2 separate regions of the Homo sapiens genome follow, and region 1 is linked to region 2. Evidence: promoter capture Hi-C in 16 types of primary human blood cells and fetal thymus (Javierre and others, 2016). All regions are on one chromosome and are shown on one strand. The core of a region is centred on a gene start or on the middle of the fragment in contact, and the rest is flanking DNA. Distances in the headings are between cores, read along the strand shown. Region 1 holds the start of CBLN3 (cerebellin 3 precursor). Region 2 holds the start of RNASE6 (ribonuclease A family member 6).

Region 1 (6,372 bases), core at 1-2,500, 3.6 Mb before region 2:
CGTTTTCCTTGGGGCCCTCCAGCTGCAGCCAGATGTGGGGGTTGTCCGGACAGTCCTTCGGAAGGACGCTCACCCCCACGCTGAAGATGCGCTCCACATGGGGCTGCTGTTCCCGAACCTTGTTCTCAGCCTCCGCAGACACCGCAAAGCGATCTGGGGACGCGGGGCGGGCCCCCCAGGTAGGCATGGCTGCTGCCCCCAGCCCTGGAAGGGGAGAAGGCAGCTCAGAGCCTCATTGTACCCTCCATCCAAATCCTGGTTCCTGGGACTACACCAGCTATCAACAGGTCGCACCTAGTTAAGGCTCTGGTAAACAGCCCCAGGAGGTGACAAGCATCTGAGTCCACTGGAGGTAGGGAGGGTGTATGTCACGCAGGCCTCTCCGGAGAGGAAGTCCCGGTAAACAAGGCTGTCTATCGAGAGTGGGCGTCTGGGCTTTGGAAAAGGATGACCACAGTCCGGAGCAAGAAGGGTGGGGGGGCTCCAGCTCGGCCTGGAGGCCAGAAGGAGTCTCCTGGGGCACTCTGAAGCTTCTTAAGGACGAATCCTCAGCAGGGGATTGAACTAGGCTGTCCTCTGGGGGCCCTGGTCTGCCATTTCCAAGGTTCAAGCCACTCCCACCCCTCCCCCAGCCGTCCGCTGCCCCTCTCCGTCGGGCCAGGAGCACCGCCCAGGGCCCAGGGGCCGGGCCGGGCCGGGCCCGCCCACCGCGGACTGGGGCAGCCACCCCGGGCCGGGCCTACTCCGCACCGCGGCCCCCGCTCCCCGCTCCCGGGCGCGGTGGAGGGGCGCGCCTACCGCCTCCGCCGCCCGCGCCGGCTTCAGGTCCTCTCAGCGCCCGCCAGGCCCCCGCTTTGCCCGCGCCCCCAGCCCAGGGGACAAGGGCAGGGGGCCCGAATCTGGGCGGGCCTTCCCGGGTTCCTCACCCAGCGGGGACCTCTCTTGTCCACATCGCACGCAAACTGTTTCTTGAGTCACTTCCTGGCCTGGGGCGGAGTCAGCCCAGCTCCTCCCGGCTGCGCGCCCTCCTCCCAACCCCGCCGCCGCGCCCAGAGGCCCCGACGGGCCCGCTCGGCCTAGTCCCCTCGGCGGCTCCAGGGCTCGCCCCTTGCGCTTCTCACCAGCCCTCCCGTCTGTCTCCCGGCCCTCAGGGTCCTCGCGCATTCTGCGCAGTTACTTCTCGGAAAGGGGAACCATGCGTTGAAAGTTGTTTCCCGCGAATAAAGATGTGGCCGACCAAAGAGGCAGCGTGACTGGCCCACTGGTGCTCTAGGCCCAAGCACTTTCCACCAAAGCAATCGTGGCGGAGGGGGTAGGCGGGAGGCGGGAGGCGGAGGGTACCCGTGGTGGAGTACCCCTTTCTTCCAACAAACGGAAAGATGCCACGAAGAAGGGCTGTTGATTTGTGGGGGATTTTGAAGAGAGGAAGAGTAGGAGGAAGGGGTTGAGGGGCTGCCTCTGGCATATGCACACACTCACACATTCTGTCACACCCGTCACACACACATACCATGTTCTCCATCCCCCCAGGTCCAGCCCTCAGTGCTGTCCCATCCAGCAGGGCTGCCCTGAAGCTCTGGCTGCAGCCCTCCCGTCCAGTGGGCAGGCGGCTTCATCCCTCCTTTCTCTCCCAAAGCCCAACTGCTGTCACTGCATGCTCTGCCAAGGAGGAGGGAACTGCAGTGACAGCAGGAGTAAGAGTGGGAGGCAGGACAGAGCTGGGACACAGGTATGGAGAGGGGGTTCAGCGAGCCTAGAGAGGGCAGACGATCAGGGTGCCGGCGGTGAGAATCCAGGGAGAGGAGCGGAAACAGAAGAGGGGCAGAAGACCGGGGCACTTGTGGGTTGCAGAGCCCCTCAGCCATGTTGGGAGCCAAGCCACACTGGCTACCAGGTCCCCTACACAGTCCCGGGCTGCCCTTGGTTCTGGTGCTTCTGGCCCTGGGGGCCGGGTGGGCCCAGGAGGGGTCAGAGCCCGTCCTGCTGGAGGGGGAGTGCCTGGTGGTCTGTGAGCCTGGCCGAGCTGCTGCAGGGGGGCCCGGGGGAGCAGCCCTGGGAGAGGCACCCCCTGGGCGAGTGGCATTTGCTGCGGTCCGAAGCCACCACCATGAGCCAGCAGGGGAAACCGGCAATGGCACCAGTGGGGCCATCTACTTCGACCAGGTAATCCCCCTACCCCTGTCCAGGGGACCTGGAAAGACCCTGCAAGGACCTGGAAGCAACTGTCCAAGCCCACTTTGCTGTCTCTGAGGCTTTAAGAAAACAGCTTCCTACATCTTTCACTAATCTGGCCTATTGCCCCACCACCCCACCGACGGTTTCCCCTCCCTCCACCCATACGCAGCCCTCTCCTTGCCCCTTCTCACCATTTCTTTTGAATCTGTTCACTCCTATTCACTCCTACTTGCCACTCCTTCTATTCATTACTCACTGCCCCTGCCCCTAGTCCCCATGGTACCCCTGAGCCATGGGCATTTCCTGAGCCCCACTCAGCAGGCTCTGCTTCCCCCAGGTCCTGGTGAACGAGGGCGGTGGCTTTGACCGGGCCTCTGGCTCCTTCGTAGCCCCTGTCCGGGGTGTCTACAGCTTCCGGTTCCATGTGGTGAAGGTGTACAACCGCCAAACTGTCCAGGTGACCTCAGCACTGGCCCCCATCCCCGGCTCAGGAGGGTGGGGAGGGGGAAGAAGGGGAGCCCAGCTGACCTCCGGGTGGACTCTCCATTGACCTGTGTCCTGGAGGCCAGGACCAGGGGAGGAATGGGCCTGCCTTGCATTGAGTGTGGAGGATGTGCAGAGTCCAATGCTGGCCGCCCCTCAGCCCTCCCGGGAGAGCCCATTAAAACCCAGCTTCCCAAGAGGAAGCTCCTGGGAAAGTGGGGGGTCCTGAGCTAAGGGCTGGGGAATGGGGGCTAACTGGGCTCCCCTCCCCAGGTGAGCCTGATGCTGAACACGTGGCCTGTCATCTCAGCCTTTGCCAATGATCCTGACGTGACCCGGGAGGCAGCCACCAGCTCTGTGCTACTGCCCTTGGACCCTGGGGACCGAGTGTCTCTGCGCCTGCGTCGGGGGAATCTACTGGGTGGTTGGAAATACTCAAGTTTCTCTGGCTTCCTCATCTTCCCTCTCTGAGGACCCAAGTCTTTCAAGCACAAGAATCCAGCCCCTGACAACTTTCTTCTGCCCTCTCTTGCCCCAGAAACAGCAGAGGCAGGAGAGAGACTCCCTCTGGCTCCTATCCCACCTCTTTGCATGGGACCCTGTGCCAAACACCCAAGTTTAAGAGAAGAGTAGAGCTGTGGCATCTCCAGACCAGGCCTTTCCACCCACCCACCCCCAGTTACCCTCCCAGCCACCTGCTGCATCTGTTCCTGCCTGCAGCCCTAGGATCAGGGCAAGGTTTGGCAAGAAGGAAGATCTGCACTACTTTGCGGCCTCTGCTCCTCCGGTTCCCCCACCCCAGCTTCCTGCTCAATGCTGATCAGGGACAGGTGGCGCAGGTGAGCCTGACAGGCCCCCACAGGAGCCCAGATGGACAAGCCTCAGCGTACCCTGCAGGCTTCTTCCTGTGAGGAAAGCCAGCATCACGGATCTCAGCCAGCACCGTCAGAAGCTGAACCAGCACCGTATGGGCTAGGGTGGGAGGCTCAGCCACAGGCAGAAGGGTGGGAAGGGCCTGGAGTCTGTGGCTGGTGAGGAAGGAAGGAGGGTGTATTGTCTAGACTGAACATGGTACACATTCTGCATGTATAGCAGAGCAGCCAGCAGGTAGCAATCCTGGCTGTCCTTCTATGCTGGATCCCAGATGGACTCTGGCCCTTACCTCCCCACCTGAGATTAGGGTGAGTGTGTTTGCTCTGGCTGAGAGCAGAGCTGAGAGCAGGTATACAGAGCTGGAAGTGGACCATGGAAAACATCGATAACCATGCATCCTCTTGCTTGGCCACCTCCTGAAACTGCTCCACCTTTGAAGTTTGAACTTTAGTCCCTCCACACTCTGACTGCTGCCTCCTTCCTCCCAGCTCTCTCACTGAGTTATCTTCACTGTACCTGTTCCAGCATATCCCCACTATCTCTCTTTCTCCTGATCTGTGCTGTCTTATTCTCCTCCTTAGGCTTCCTATTACCTGGGATTCCATGATTCATTCCTTCAGACCCTCTCCTGCCAGTATGCTAAACCCTCCCTCTCTCTTTCTTATCCCGCTGTCCCATTGGCCCAGCCTGGATGAATCTATCAATAAAACAACTAGAGAATGGTGGTCAGTGAGACACTATAGAATTACTAAGGAGAAGATGCCTCTGGAGTTTGGATCGGGTGTTACAGGTACAAGTAGGTATGTTGCAGAGGAAAATAAATATCAAACTGTATACTAAAATTACATTTTAAAAGTTGAATAATGTTTGAGTTAAATAGGAAATACCAAGGTGAATTTGTGGTTTTGAAAAGAAATAACTTTTTGAACTGTCACTAATCCTAAAAACAACATCAGGAACAATCTGATATCCATTCTTAGAAACTGGATCTTTGCTTCAGATATTAGTCACCATTAAAAAAAAATACCAAAAACCCTCAGGTTCCTTGGAGAATAGCTGCACACCTTAAGTAACTCCAGGCCCAGAACATGTTGTTGATGACAGAAAGCAAAGATACTTTTTAAATGTATAAAGTAAAGCTGAAAAGGCAAAGGAATCAATTTAAAGAAGCTCCCACTTGACATGCTTTGACAATTTGATTATCAAAAGGAAAATAATACAGTTAATTGGAACAAGGTGAATTTTTTAAATCCATGTACCTGCAATGATATTCAAAAAGGAAGAAGTCACTATAAAGTGTGACAAAAAGTAGTTAATATGCTGAGTGAAGAAGAGTGAATATAGGCTATTTTTAGTGAGTCGTGATAAGTACAAGAACATAAATATAGTAGGCATTTTGTCTATTTGCAAGGTACATTTGTTTTTCTTTATCTATGTAAGTAGGGAGGGGTGAGTACAGAGAACTGTGAATAATTCCAAGAAGATCTGGCACTGTGCCAAGAATGAAAGATACTGGTGGAACTATTTGAGTATATTTTGCAACTAAGAAGAAAAACAGTCCAATGGCGTGTTATAAGACAATGGATTAGTCAGATGTCCAAAAGACAACTGTTCACTGCTCAGGCTTGATCGTTCATCTCCTAGAAAATGGATCCTCTGTATTACCCCACTAATTATAATGAGATATTAATTAGGCAAAATGATTAAGAGTAGGTTTGGCTGTAACAGTAAAACCCAAAATAAGAATAGCTTAAACAAAATAGGAAATCATTTTTGTCTCACATAGAAAAATCTGTAAATAAGAGTCCAGGGATGGATGGCAGCCTTATGATCATTTGAAAGCCCAGTCTTCTGTCTTGTTCTACCATCCTTAGCTTGCCACCTCATGACCCAAGACGGCTCCCTGAGCTCCAGACATTACATCAGCCTAACAGGAAGGAGGAAGGAAGAAACAACACATCTCTTTCCTTGAAAGAAGCTTTCTGAAATATGCACCAATATTTCTGATTGTGTCTCAGTAGAATTTAGTCACCCGGGCTCACCAAGCCAGGGAGCTTGGCTAGGAGCTACAGTGTTTATTCCAGGCAGCCATGTCCAGCCAGAAGTTGGGAGTTTTATAACAAGGAAGAAGGGGAAATTAGCTATTGGGGAAGACAACTAGAAGTTGTTTTTTATTGTTGTTTTTTGAGGCAGAGTCATGCTCTGTCGACCAGGCCGGAGTGCAGTGGTGCAATTTCAGCTCACTGCAACCTCCACCTCCTGGGTTCAAGCAATGCTCATGCCTCAGCCTCCCGAGTAGCTGGGATTACAGGTGCGAGCCACCACACCCAGCTAATTTTTTGTATTTTTAGTAAAGATGGGGTTTCGCCATGTTGTCCAGGCTGGTATCAAACTCCTGGCCTCACGTGATCTGATTACAGGTGTGAGCTACCACATCTGGCCACAAAGTACTACCAACTTGGTGGCTTAAAACAACTGTTTATTACCTCACAGTTTCTGTGGGTCAGAAGTCCAACAAAACGTGACTGGCTTCTCTGCTCAGGGTTTCACAAGATCAAAAGCAAAGTATAAGCAGGGCAGCCTTCCTTACTGGAGGGGAAGAATCCACTTCTAAACTCATTTAAAGTTCAGTTCCTTACGGTTGTAGGACTTAGGTCCTAGCCCCCTCCATTCTCAAGCCAACAACTGCAAGCCAAGTCCTTCTCACACTTTAAATCTCTCAGGCCTACCTTTCTACCACATCTCTCTGACTTCAGTGTAGAAAGTTCTCTGAGTTTAGGGACTCGTGTGATTAGGCCCACCCAGATAAGCCAGGATAATCTCCCTATTTTAAGGTCCACA
Region 2 (5,772 bases), core at 510-3,009:
CACCATGTTGGCCAGGCTGGTCTTGAACTCCTGACCTCAGACGATCCACCTGCCTCAGCCTCCTAAAGTGCTGGGATTACAGGCGTGAGCCACCACGACAAGCCTAGTGCTTTTTTCTTGATCTATGCTTTCTATTTATCCATTTCAATAAATAATGGAGGATTGACCCTAAGGTTACTACAATGGATTATTATCCCTATTACTACTACTATCACCTTATATTTAAAACATTATCTGATTAAAAACGGAAACAAATAGAAAAGACATAGGATCCTTCAGTTGCCAGTGACAGAATCTATGTGTGAGTTATCATCAACTGTCTTTGAGGTATCAGTACTACCTCCAATTAAGCATAGACAATGGTTTCCAGGGGAATATATAAAGTCATGAGCAGAGTTTGAAGAAATGCTCCAAAGTCCCAAACGCTGTCCTTTCTTGTGGGCAAGGAAGTGGGGCCCCAGGGAGGCCTCAAAAGTTTTCTAGGGACTTAAAGTCAAAACAGTGTTCCTCTGAGTACCGGTCAACAATGCTTTGAAAGCGGATCTCAAACACACACTCATTAGAATGCAGCAGGAAGTGGTTTTATTGCTGTGAACACAGGGCAATAAAGCTTGGCAAAAGTTGCAGGGTTAGAAATCTGAATCTTTCTTTGCTGTCTTCCCTATTCCCTTCTCTCGAAAAGTACAGAACTACAAAGCAGAAAATAATCTTATTTCTTTTTGTCTCAACTCTGGTCTGGCATCCTAGGCACTCGAATTCTCCAAACACCTTTCTTCTTTCTTCTACGGGAACAAGAAAATCAACAAAAGAAAAGAAAACATGGATGCAATTGTAACAGAAGCTATGTCAAATGAAAGGAAATGCAGTGGATGCCTTAGAGAATACTATCTAAGTGTACAGGAACCAACTTGTAGGGGGGATCGCTCTTCTGAGGGGGGTCACAGGCAACAATGAAGAATTTGTACTGGGCAGCAGCACTATAGCGGCACTGGGGATACTTTCCTGAAGTGAGTCTGCAGTCAGTCATGTTGACAGGCTTTGAGCTCTGGTGGCAGTTGTGCCGACGATTTTTGCAGACAATGCTGAGCAAATCACAGACAGCAGCCACATTCTGGAAAGAGTCATGCAGAAAGGTATTTTGATGCTTACAGTGCTGGGTATAATTGTTGATGCCACTCATTGCCCTGTTGCATTGGAGAGGACTTGGCTGTATATGCTGAATTTCAAACCAGTGAGCCTTGGTGAGACGCTTAGGCCAAGCATGAAGTGGACACACTGGTCCCCATAGAACCAGCAGCAGTAAAAGAAGAGGAAAGCATAGCACCATCTTTTCTGTGTAGAAAGAGAGAAGATAGTTATAGTAGGAGAAGCAATAAGAGCAAAATTTTTAATCATAACTATTTAGATTTTTATTTTGCCTTTTAAGATTTTACAGCTCCCTTTAAAATCTTCTTTCTCACATAGTCTCACAATTCTATGAAGAACCTGAAGCCCAGGAAACAGAAATATGACCTCTCCTTTGATTGGCATATCCCATTTTCTTTCACAAGTACTCATGCATTTGATGGCTGTCATATCAGAAAGTTTCTTCCCTCTTCCCTCCTGAAATATTTACCCTCTATCTGACCACTACCTCCCAGCCGTCTTTACTGCTCTACTCGCTCCAGCCCTGAGGCTTTCTTTCTTACCTGGTCTCAGTGTTGGGGCTCCTGCTGAGAACAGAGGCTGTGATTAGTCCAAAGCTCAGAAGCTGTTGTCTGCCTTTCTTCTCTAACCCTTCGAGCCCTGTGTGTATAGGGAAGGGGAAGAAATATTCTGAGCTTTCAGAAGGAGAATCCTAGGGTTTGGCAGATTAACTTCTTGTGCAGAGTCTGGATTAAACTCTTAGACTTTCACACCTGTTCTTTAAAACAGTATCATTATCACATGTATACAGGAAGGCTAAACCAACTTAAAGAAACAACATGACTGAAAACTCACAGTTTTGAGGAACTGATCACTTCCTGATATGGAATGAGTGCTTCCTGCCTCATCTGAGGCTTCAGTGTTTTTTTTTGAAGCTTTATGATTCCTGTTTCTTAAGAGAAAATATGTCACATAAATATGATATAATGCCTGCCACATACTTGGTAATGTTGTAAGTTCCTACAACAGAAGTGAATACATTATTCATTTATGCATATACTTATTGGGCCAGGTACTAGGCTACACAAATTCAGGAGCTCATGAGTTTTTTTTTTTTTTTTTTTTGAGACGGAGTCTTGCTCTGTCGCCCAGGCTGGAGTGCAGTGGTGCGATCTTTGCTCACTGCAAGCTCCACCTCCTGGGTTCATGCCATTCTCCTGCCTCAGCCTCCCGAGTAGCTGGGACTACAGGTGCCTGCCATCACGCCCAGCTAATTTTTTTGTATTTTTAGTAGAGACGGGGTTTCACTGTGTTAGCCAGGATGGTCTCTATCTCCTGACCTCGTGATCTGCCAGGAGCTCATGATTTAATGAAAGAGATTAGAGACAGGCAGGTAAGTATATAGACAAGTAGATTATATTAATATAAATAGCACTTACAGTGTGATGGAGGACACTGCAGGAGGCTACGGGAAGATAGTAGAGGGGAAGGATTGTTGGAGGGCACAACACCTGAACTGAATTTTGAGGAATAATTAGAAGTTAGGTGAAGAGAGTGTTAAGCGCCTCCCAAAGACAGAATTGTGTATGAAAAGACCTGTAAGCCTGAAGAAGAAGGCCGAATTTAGGATATTTGCCTCTTGAATCTGTTCTTACCTTTTCACTGGTACTGCAACACCCTTATTCAGAAACTCATTGTCTTATGGAGGGCTCACATAAAAGCCTCCCACATGGACTCCTTGCCTTGTTTTTTTCTCCTTCCAATCCATTCTACATATTACTTCCAGATTAGTCTTTTTTTGAACAAGATATAATAGTACAACACTCTTGCCCCATGCTTTTATGGCTCCAAATGTCTGCAGAATAAACATAATGTCTGTTTATAGCAAGGTTGCAGGATACAAGGTTAATATACAAAAGTCAGTTGCTTTCTTATATACCAGCAATGAACAATTGCAATTTGATATTTAAAACACAATACCATTTATATTGCACCAAAGAAAGTGAAATACTTAGGTGTAAATCTAATACATTATGTAAAAATTGGTATGAGGAAAAATTTAAAACTCTAATGAAAGAAATTGAGGAAGCACAGATATTCCATGTACATGAGTAGGAATACTCAATATGTTAAGATGTCATTTCCTCTCAACTTGATCTATAGATTCAGCACAATCTCAATCAATATCCCAGCACATTATTTTGTGGATAGTGACAAACTGACTCTGAAGTTTATATAAAAGTAAAAGATTCAGGTTGGACACGGTGGCTCACGCCTGTAATCCCAGCACTTTGGGAGGCCGAGGCAGGCTGATCACGAGGTCAAGAGATCAAGACCATCCTGGCTAACACAGTGAAACCCCGTTTCTACTAAAAATACAAAAAATTAGCCAGGCCTGGTGGCGGGCGCCTATAGTACCAGCTACTTGGGAGGCTGAGGCACGAGAATCGCTTGAACCCGGGAGGTGGAGCTTGCAGTGAGCCGAGATCGCACCACTGCACTCCAGCCTGGGTGACAGAGCGAGACTCTGTCTCAAAAAAAAAAAAGATTCAGAATAGTCAACACAATGCAGAAAAAGAAGAACAAAGTCAGAAAACTGACGTGACCCAACTTCAAAACTTACTATAAAGCTACAGCAATTAAGACAGTGTGTTATTGGTGAAAAATAGACAAATAGGTCAATGGAACCAAGTAGAAAGCCCAGAGGTAGACCCACACAAATACAGTGAACTAATCTGTGACAAAGGATCAATTTTCAATTGAGAAAAGTTAGTCTTTTCAACAAATGGTAGTAGAACTGAATGTACACATGCAAAAAATAAATCTTTTCATAGGTTAGACTTCATACATTTTCATAGACCTGTACTTTATATCTTTCACAATTTTTTTTTGAGATGGAGTTTCGCTTTTGTTGCCCAGGCTGGAGTGCAATGGCATGATCTTAGCTCACCACAACCTCTGCCGCTCAGGTTCAAGTGATTCTCCTGCCTCAGCCTCCGGAGTAGTTGGGATTACAGGCATGCACCACTACACCCAGCTAATTTTGTATTTTTAGTAGAGACAGGGTTTCACCATGTTGGTGAGGCTGGCCTCGAACTCCTGACCTCAGGTGATCCGCCCACCTCGGCCTCCCAAAGTGCTGGGATTACAGGCGTGAGCCACCGCGCCTGGCACAAATGTTAATTCAAAATGGACCATAGACCTAATGCAAAATACAAAACTACAAAAATTCTAGAAAATAACATAGAAGAAAATCTAGGCAGCCTTGAGTTTGGCAATGATTTTTTAGATACAATACCAAAAGCACAATCCATGAAAGAAAAATATTGATAAGTGGAACTTCATTAAAATTGAAAACTTCTGCTCTGCAACAGATACTATTAAGAGAATAAAAAGATAAGCCAGAGACTGAGAGAAGATATTTGCAAAAGATATATCTGATAAAAGAACATTATCCAAAATATACAAAGAACTCAAAAAACCTCAACCATAAGAAAACCAACAACCTAGTTGAAAAATGGGCAAAACATCTGAATGGTATGGGGCAAAGACAATTTTTCCTCTCCCTCTGAAGGTTCAAAACTTCTGAAATGAACTGACAATAGACAGATTAACAGGAGAAAAAGGCATACAAATTTATTACTGTGCATAATCATGGGAACCATACAAATTATGAGACTCAAAGAAAGACTAAATAGTTGAAATTCATGTATTCTCTTCATAGGGGAGAGGAACATGGGGAAAATGTAGGCAATTTTGAGGAGTTTTAAATATTTTTTAGGGAACTGGCCCCAAATAGCAGACAATAGTTTGTAAATGAGTCTCTTTGGAAGCTGAATGGAAGGGTGACGAGTTATGGGAAGGTGAAGGGTGGAACTGCACTATGAACAAAGGTTGCCTTATTATACAGATAAAGTCTCTTAGGTACTCTTTTGGAGCTGCTCTTGGAAGAATAGATGAAAGGTCTATCTGAGTGTGGTGTGAAGAGACTTCTAGTCTCTTCTTTTTTTCAGGTGGCTAATATTTCCTGGTTATCTGATGAGATTTTTAGAAAGGGGGGTCTTAAGACAATTGCATTTCTTGGAAGAAGTTTTCCTTATCCAGACAAGGGAACTTCCAGAGAGAGCTCCTCTCTGCATTTGAGAGCTGGGGGAGGAATGAGAGAAGATTAGAACATCTTTGGTCCTGAGGCAGCTTCTAAGAAGTTTTGGTTTCTTTAATTCTTTAATTCTAGTTAAATTTAATTCTTTAATTTAATTTCTTTAATTCAAAAGTGCTCAGAATGCCATGCATCATAGTTTGTAGTATGATTCTCTGTACCCCAACACTTCACCAAACAAGATATACAGATGGCAGATGAGCAATGAAAAGATGTTCAGCATCACATTGTTTGGAGAAAAACTTTTCCTCTATCATTTTAGGTTTTAAAGGTGGTGGTAAAGGAGCTTGTGAATTAGAAAAAGATTAATAGGAGAAAATTCAAAGTTTATTTACACATGCACACAGGAGTATTACATAATGCGTAACTTGCTGAATAGCCAGAGGTAAAGTTATATATCAACTTTAAAAAAAGTGTTTTTGGCCAAGTGCAGTGGCTCATGCCTGTAATCCTAACATTCTGGGAGACTGAGGCAGGAGGATCACTTG

What was found. Contacts are between HindIII fragments. The CHiCAGO score rates a contact against its expected background, and 5 or more counts as called.
Region 1: the fragment with the promoter of CBLN3 here is called in contact with the fragment with the promoter of RNASE6 in region 2 in 1 of 17 cell types (M0 macrophages); the score reaches 6.8 in M0 macrophages.

The regions. Positions count from the first base shown.
Region 1 is chr14:24,424,546-24,430,917 of GRCh38, reverse strand. CBLN3 (cerebellin 3 precursor) reads left to right here and starts at 1,250. Exons shown (of 3, transcript NM_001039771.3): 1 at 1,250-2,163; 2 at 2,513-2,632; 3 at 2,932-4,373. The coding sequence starts at 1,864. The coding sequence ends at 3,129. It overlaps KHNYN (KH and NYN domain containing), which reads right to left and starts at 964. Exons shown (of 8, transcript NM_015299.3): 1 at 799-964; 2 at 1-204. The coding sequence starts at 187. RefSeq lists enhancers at 1-233, 378-557 and a silencer at 588-1,127. The HindIII fragment of the contact is 4,979 bases long and covers 533-5,511 here.
Region 2 is chr14:20,777,255-20,783,026 of GRCh38, reverse strand. RNASE6 (ribonuclease A family member 6) reads right to left here and starts at 1,759. Exons shown (of 2, transcript NM_005615.5): 1 at 1,689-1,759; 2 at 560-1,332. The coding sequence starts at 1,327. The coding sequence ends at 875. All of the region lies in intron 1 of LOC107984671 (a long non-coding RNA gene), which reads left to right. RefSeq lists an enhancer at 615-684. The HindIII fragment of the contact is 1,450 bases long and covers 613-2,062 here.